Regions from separate parts of the Homo sapiens genome. Here region 1 is linked to region 2. Evidence: promoter capture Hi-C in human tissues and cell types (Jung and others, 2019). All regions are on one chromosome and are shown on one strand. Each heading gives the region's core, a stretch centred on a gene start or on the middle of the fragment in contact. The rest is flanking DNA. Distances are from core to core; before and after follow the strand shown. Region 1 overlaps LOC105377862 (a long non-coding RNA gene). Region 2 holds the start of HTR1B (5-hydroxytryptamine receptor 1B).

Region 1 (3,407 bases), core at 73-2,572, 480 kb after region 2:
GCATTTTGAGGAAACTAAAAACTAAACAAAAAATTTTATGAAAACCTCAAAATCACAGGTAAACAAGTTATACTCCCTTTTGGAGTGTCGTGTACAAGGTGTATAGGACATTTAGTAGATAAGACCTTTCAGGTTTCCTTGATGAAGAAGTTTATAGACTTAATTACATTTGCCAACATTTACATTTTTACTATTTGCCAAATATGCAGATAGAGAAGAAAAGTATACTGTGTATTTGGACAAAAATATCCATAATCTTTAGTTTTATATTTTCTTACATTTCATTTAAACCTTTATAGAAATCAAAAAGGTGATTTGAGACTCTATCACTCAAATAAATGTTCCTTCTAATTGTTTGAAACGAATATTCTTGTTGTTGCCGTGATTCAAAAAAACTAATGCAGTAACAGAAAACCAAATACCGCATGTTCTCAGTTATAAGTGGGTACTAAATGATGCGAACACATGGACACATAGAGGAGAACAACACACAATGGGGCATTTTGGAGGGTGGATGGTGGGAGGAGGGAGAGGATCAGGAAAAATCACTAGTGGGTACTAGGCTTAATACCTGGAGATGAAATAATCTCTACAACAAATCCCCATGGCACATGTTACAAATGTAATAACAAACCTGCATATGTAACCCTGAACTTATTAAAATAAAAGTTTTTAAAAATCACTTTATATACTCTGGAAAGCATGATCTTCATTAAGATTTTAAGGAATCTCCATACTGAAGGGAGCACCACATCTGTTATTAAAATTTTCTCTTCAGTACTTCCACAGAACATTTTAATTGCCAGTTTTGAATAAGGAAATGTATATTTATTGAGTTTCATACAGCAATCAAAGGAACAGTACTTTAATATATGTTTGATCATGTAGTATCCCCAAACAAATTCAGTCACCCTTATTTTTATCTGAGCATTGGTTTCTTTTGGGGAGGCTAAAAACTTTTTCTTGGCTTGAAGTATCTGCCTATTGCATGTTGGACTTCAAAGCTTCCATCTTCCTGTGTGCTTTCTTATTCTCTTCTCCCCTGTGTTTAAGCCCAAATTCTTTTTTATGTATTGTACACTATGCTCTGTTTTGATTATTTATCCCCTTATTCCAGTCGTGTGTGTCCTTTCATTTGTTATTCAAATTGCCCAGTAATTTATCCTACTTTTTCAGTGATGTCTTCTGCATGCTTGTTTTCATATTGCAATTGCTTCATAATTTTAGTACTTAGAAAACATGGTCACAATATTCACAATGTTGAAAGCTAAAGTAGCACTAAGCATAACAGTCAATCCCTGGGCAAAATCAAAGATGAACTGCTAAAGGTCATAATTATTAAATTGCACATTTAAGTCATATCAATCAGTGTGATGAATCATGGATGATTCATTGTCATGAACTGCAAATCATATAGTATTCACTTGAAACTAAAAACATGGGTGCTTTCAGCCACTATTTTGGAAAATACAGCATGAGTTTTGTACATTTCCATCAATTTTTTGCCCCATCACCAAAAAGCCAAAATTTTCTGCCTCCTAGGGAGGGGTTTCTGGAAAGTAGGTTAAAACTGGAACAGACCCGGCCGGGCTCTGTGGTTCACACCTTGTATTCCCAGAACTTTGGGAGGCTGAGGCAGGTGGATCGCCTGAGGTCAGGAGTTCAAGACCAGCCTGACCAACATGGAGAAACCCCATCTCTACTAAAAATACAAAATTAGCTGTGCGTAGTTGTGCATGCCTGTAATCCCAGCTACTCGGGATGCTGAGACAGGAGAATTGCTTGAACCCGGGAGGCGGAGGTTCCAGTGAGCCGAGATAGCGCCATTGGACTCCAGCCTGGGCAACAAGAGTGAAACTCCGTCTCAAAAACAAACAAACAAACAAAAAACTGGAACAGACCCAGGCAAAGTGGGACAGTTGATGACCCAATCAGCTAGGCAGGGACTACTGAAAATTGAGTATGGAGTAGAACACTGAGAAAAACCTCCAAAGTTAAATTAATCTTGCATTTTTAGTATAAACCACCATTGTATATAGTATAGACTTTTTATGTTTCCAGATTGTATTTGCTGATAATTTGTTAAGAATTGTGTTAAAGAGTTTTGAATGTATGTTGATAGGGGATATTGGTCTATAGTTTTATTTTCTTATGATATTTTTGTCTGGTTTTTATACTTCGTTAATACTGCCTTCATAATATGAATTGGGAAGTGAATGGATCTAAGACGACCAAAATGTCCTCTTCCTTTCCATTCAGATTCTATCATCTTATTCTAGGTTTATTTCACCAAACTGGTCTTTTTCAACACTTCTAATTTCCTGTTAGGCATCTAGTCATCTCCCTTATCCAGTCCTACTTGCATACCACTGTCAATTCAATGTTAAAGATGCACAAATTTTATATCTTTATTATTGTATTTAAAGGACTCCTGGTTTCCTATGTAACAAAATAGAAATATTTTTTTAACATCACATCTAAAGTCCTTCACCATCTGTAATTTTCCTTTGGATCTTCAAATTCTTTATCCCAGCAGTTTTTAACTGAGCTGCATATTAAAACCACTTGTGGAACATTTTAAAAATAGGTTACATCATGTCGTAAATTATGTTGTTGCCGTTGTGGCCTCCAAGTATGCACTGAGCAAGCTATTTAAGAGGTCACAGAATTGAAAAGTTCACAGACCAAACAAAAATTCTTGAAAGGGTTGGTAATTAAGTCAATTTAAACATACACTGAGAAGCAAAGAGACAAAGATGTATGGATTATCACATTCATAATAACATACAAGCAGGAAGGACTCACAACTGAATCCTGACGTGTTCAATGATTACATGTGTTGTATCTCTCTCTCTGCCACATCAGGCTTCCCCACTGATGGTACGGTCATAAGGACCAGAATTGTTTTAAGCAATGGACCCCTCATATGGAAGGTGACTTGGTCTTGCTTTTTTGGATAAATGCAAGAACAACTACTTCTGTCAGCAGCTATAGCTTGCCAATTTGGCTGACAAGCTCCCATGGATTTTATTAGTGTGTTTTGGGCAAAGAACACATGGGGCTGAAAAGTTCTCCAGATGGTTCCACTGTACATCTGTGGCTGAGATTTCCTACTGTATTCCACTGAGGCTGGCTAAGAAACCACCCCTACCAATATGCACCACACCAAGAGTCCTTACCTCCTCCACATTCTTATGCATGCCATTGCATCTCACACTCCTGGGATCTCCCTTTCTAGCAAAATTTTATCTAAGATTCATTTCCCCGTAAAGCTTTCTGTAATCATTCATCTATGTTACAAATTCAGCGTCTCAGATGTTAATTTGCAATGAATTTAGAACAATCCGCAATTCAAATTTTTTTCTGAATATCCACTATCATTTTCTACTTATTCCTACATATGCTGG
Region 2 (3,930 bases), core at 455-2,954:
TATGGCTGACATTCCCACATATTAGTTGAAGGCAAAGGAGACACACAAGATGGTGCTGATGATGGTTCCAGTCCTCCCCGCCCCACCATCCCCCTTTTTTCTTGAATTCTGATGACCTCCTTTCTAGGTAGGCTGTTGGAAGGAACACGCTTACTGGCAACTGTTTTCCAGAGGCACTGAAGCACTGAGCAGCTGGAAGAGGATGGTGGAGCAGAAGGTTTAATTTCACATACAGTTGGCTTCTGTTTGTGATAACTTTTACATTTTCGCAGATAGCTTGTCTTTTTCCCTGTTGACTCATAGTTGAGTGAAAAACACAAATTTCTAAAACTAGATGAAAAAATAGTTTTTATTGTATCAAGAGTTAAGGACGGCAAAGTACAAAATGCAAACATTGGGCCCTCTACAGCGATATTACTGGTGCCTCCTAACCTGGGTGTGGCCATCAGGGCTGGATATGATTTTAGAGCGGAGAGGTCAGAGACCAGGGCTTCCCCGCCTAACACTGGCCTCCTAGGGTGGGAGTGGTAGGCAGGAGCCTAGGGCCAGACTGCTGGACTAAACCTGTGACCATGGCTAAGGACATGGGTCTCACTGGAGGTCAGCGCAGCAAGCTCTGATGTCCGTAGAGGCGAGAACAGGACGCCTTCTTCCCCTGACCAGAAATGCAGCTCCAGGTTGTCAGGGCTGGGAGGATGGCCCAGGGTGGGAAGCGGGGAGATAGGGCGGTAGGACCCGGCGGGAGCTTCCTTGGCCAGGAAAGGAACAGGGCGGGGGGAAAAGAGGGAGGGAGAGAGAAAAAGGGAAGGTGATGGGGAGCGGGCGTCCGCACCCGCCGCGCCGCACGAGTTGCACTGCTCTGGCGGACCGGACCTGGACTCTATATAAAGAGCCCATCTGCTCCGTAGCTCGCACGCTTCTCCCGGGCTGGTGCACGCCGCGTCCCTCCAGCTCCCCCAGACACCTGCCCCTTCCCAGTGTGCCGCGCCAGGTCCTCCAGACCCGCGCACCCAGTGGCATGGCTCCGAGTGGCTCCCGTGGGACCAGGGTGGCGGTGGCGGCGGCGCGGCCCGAGCAGCCGCAACTCCAGCCCCCGTGTCCCCCCTTTTATGGCTCCGTCTCCGCGGGGCAGCTCGTCCGAGTGGCCAGAGAGTGAAAAGAGAGGGAGGGCAGAGCTCCGGCGCGAGGCGCGGCGCAGCGCTGCTCCTAGACTTCACCCCACCCAGCTCTGGCGGCCGCTGCAGCCCCCCAAAAGTGCCCCAGCTTGGGGCGAGGGGTGGGAATGCAAGATCTCGGGACCTCTCGCTGGCCTGCAAGCTTTGGTCTCTACACCTAGGAAACTCCTGTGGGCAAAGTCTGCAGATCCAAAAGCGTCCAGGTTAGGAGACGCTCAGCCTCAAGCAACTGGGGTAAGAGATCCCATTTGGTCAAAGCCTTCTCCTCAAGCAGTACTTCACCCTCCTGCACTAGACGCCTCCAGGGAGCTGGAGCGGAGCAGGGCTCGGTGGGCCAGCTCTTAGCAACCCAGGTCTAAGACCCGGTGTGGAGAGGAACAACCACAGACGCGGCGGCTTAGCTAGGCGCTCTGGAAGTGCAGGGGAGGCGCCCGCCTGCCTTGGCTGCCGCACCCATGACCTCTAGTTTCAGCTGTGAACCTGGGCGGAGGAATAATTGAGGAACTCACGGAACTATCAACTGGGGACAAACCTGCGATCGCCACGGTCCTTCCGCCCTCTCCTTCGTCCGCTCCATGCCCAAGAGCTGCGCTCCGGAGCTGGGGCGAGGAGAGCCATGGAGGAACCGGGTGCTCAGTGCGCTCCACCGCCGCCCGCGGGCTCCGAGACCTGGGTTCCTCAAGCCAACTTATCCTCTGCTCCCTCCCAAAACTGCAGCGCCAAGGACTACATTTACCAGGACTCCATCTCCCTACCCTGGAAAGTACTGCTGGTTATGCTATTGGCGCTCATCACCTTGGCCACCACGCTCTCCAATGCCTTTGTGATTGCCACAGTGTACCGGACCCGGAAACTGCACACCCCGGCTAACTACCTGATCGCCTCTCTGGCGGTCACCGACCTGCTTGTGTCCATCCTGGTGATGCCCATCAGCACCATGTACACTGTCACCGGCCGCTGGACACTGGGCCAGGTGGTCTGTGACTTCTGGCTGTCGTCGGACATCACTTGTTGCACTGCCTCCATCCTGCACCTCTGTGTCATCGCCCTGGACCGCTACTGGGCCATCACGGACGCCGTGGAGTACTCAGCTAAAAGGACTCCCAAGAGGGCGGCGGTCATGATCGCGCTGGTGTGGGTCTTCTCCATCTCTATCTCGCTGCCGCCCTTCTTCTGGCGTCAGGCTAAGGCCGAAGAGGAGGTGTCGGAATGCGTGGTGAACACCGACCACATCCTCTACACGGTCTACTCCACGGTGGGTGCTTTCTACTTCCCCACCCTGCTCCTCATCGCCCTCTATGGCCGCATCTACGTAGAAGCCCGCTCCCGGATTTTGAAACAGACGCCCAACAGGACCGGCAAGCGCTTGACCCGAGCCCAGCTGATAACCGACTCCCCCGGGTCCACGTCCTCGGTCACCTCTATTAACTCGCGGGTTCCCGACGTGCCCAGCGAATCCGGATCTCCTGTGTATGTGAACCAAGTCAAAGTGCGAGTCTCCGACGCCCTGCTGGAAAAGAAGAAACTCATGGCCGCTAGGGAGCGCAAAGCCACCAAGACCCTAGGGATCATTTTGGGAGCCTTTATTGTGTGTTGGCTACCCTTCTTCATCATCTCCCTAGTGATGCCTATCTGCAAAGATGCCTGCTGGTTCCACCTAGCCATCTTTGACTTCTTCACATGGCTGGGCTATCTCAACTCCCTCATCAACCCCATAATCTATACCATGTCCAATGAGGACTTTAAACAAGCATTCCATAAACTGATACGTTTTAAGTGCACAAGTTGACTTGCCGTTTGCAGTGGGGTCGCCTAAGCGACCTTTGGGGACCAAGTTGTGTCTGGTTCCACAGGTAGGTCGAATCTTCTTTCGCGGTTTCTGGGTCCCAGCGAGGCTCTCTCTCCTGGGCAAGGGCAATGGATCCTGAGAAGCCAGAATAGTCCTGAGAGAGAGCTCTGAAAGGAGAAGTGTTGAAACTAAATGTAGAGCTTCCCTGCCCAGGAGGAGGCTCACTTCCTCCCCTCAAGCCCCGGGCTCAGCACTGACCCTGCGGCAGCCAATCCCAAAGGGGGTTGCAACTTTTAAAAATTGATAATGGAAGGGAATCCCTGCCCTGCTTTGGTATCGTGGATAATGCCCACTAGAAGCAGTGTACTTGTAATTGTTGTCTGAAGCCTGTCTGAGACAGATCTACATACAGCCTGGCAGTACTTGAACTAGACGCTTAATGCCCTGTGTTTTTGGGGGGAGAACTTTGTGTTACAGCTTAATTTAAGAACAGTTACTTTGGCATCATTCAGTCTTCACTTTTTGTCTATTTAAACTTGGTTGGAGAAACTTGTGGATTTGGTGCTTCAAACCCTATGTGTGGCTTGGATGGCGCAGAGAAACCTTGAAGAGTTAACAGCAAAATTCTGATGCTGAGATCTCTATTTTTATTATACTTGAAACTATATGGGGGTGGGTGGGTGGGAATGGGAGATGAGGAGTGTTAAACTGAGAATCAACACCTATGATTGTTTGTTTTCTGCAGATTTACAATTTTGTAATTCCTGTTTAGCGATTGTCAAGCCACAACTCTAACAAACAAACCATTATGTGTGCTAGTGCCGAAGTCTGCAGACTGCTTTATTTTTTCTCTTAATTTCATGTACCTGTCACTTTACACATTTAAATCCCCATAAATGAAGGGTATGATGGGTGACTCAGCCCACACTGCTGCTATATTTCTTACTAATGCAATTGGTAAAACCG

Evidence for each region. Contacts are between HindIII fragments. The study calls those that stand out against the background at their distance.
Region 1: a fragment that was not itself captured here is called in contact with the fragment with the promoter of HTR1B in region 2 in 2 of the 25 tissues and cell types used here (dorsolateral prefrontal cortex and mesenchymal stem cells).

What each region holds. Positions count from the first base shown.
Region 1 is chr6:76,982,743-76,986,149 of GRCh38, reverse strand. The region is part of intron 2 of LOC105377862 (a long non-coding RNA gene); the gene reads right to left. Among named protein-coding and RNA genes, the nearest start is that of LINC02540, 390 kb to the right of the region's middle. The HindIII fragment of the contact is 7,110 bases long and covers 1-3,407 here.
Region 2 is chr6:77,461,265-77,465,194 of GRCh38, reverse strand. It overlaps HTR1B (5-hydroxytryptamine receptor 1B), which reads left to right and starts at 1,704. Exons shown (of 1, transcript NM_000863.3): 1 at 1,704-3,930. The coding sequence starts at 1,792. The coding sequence ends at 2,964. All of the region lies in intron 5 of LOC105377864, which reads right to left. RefSeq lists a silencer at 2,694-2,838. The HindIII fragment of the contact is 6,434 bases long and covers 1-3,930 here.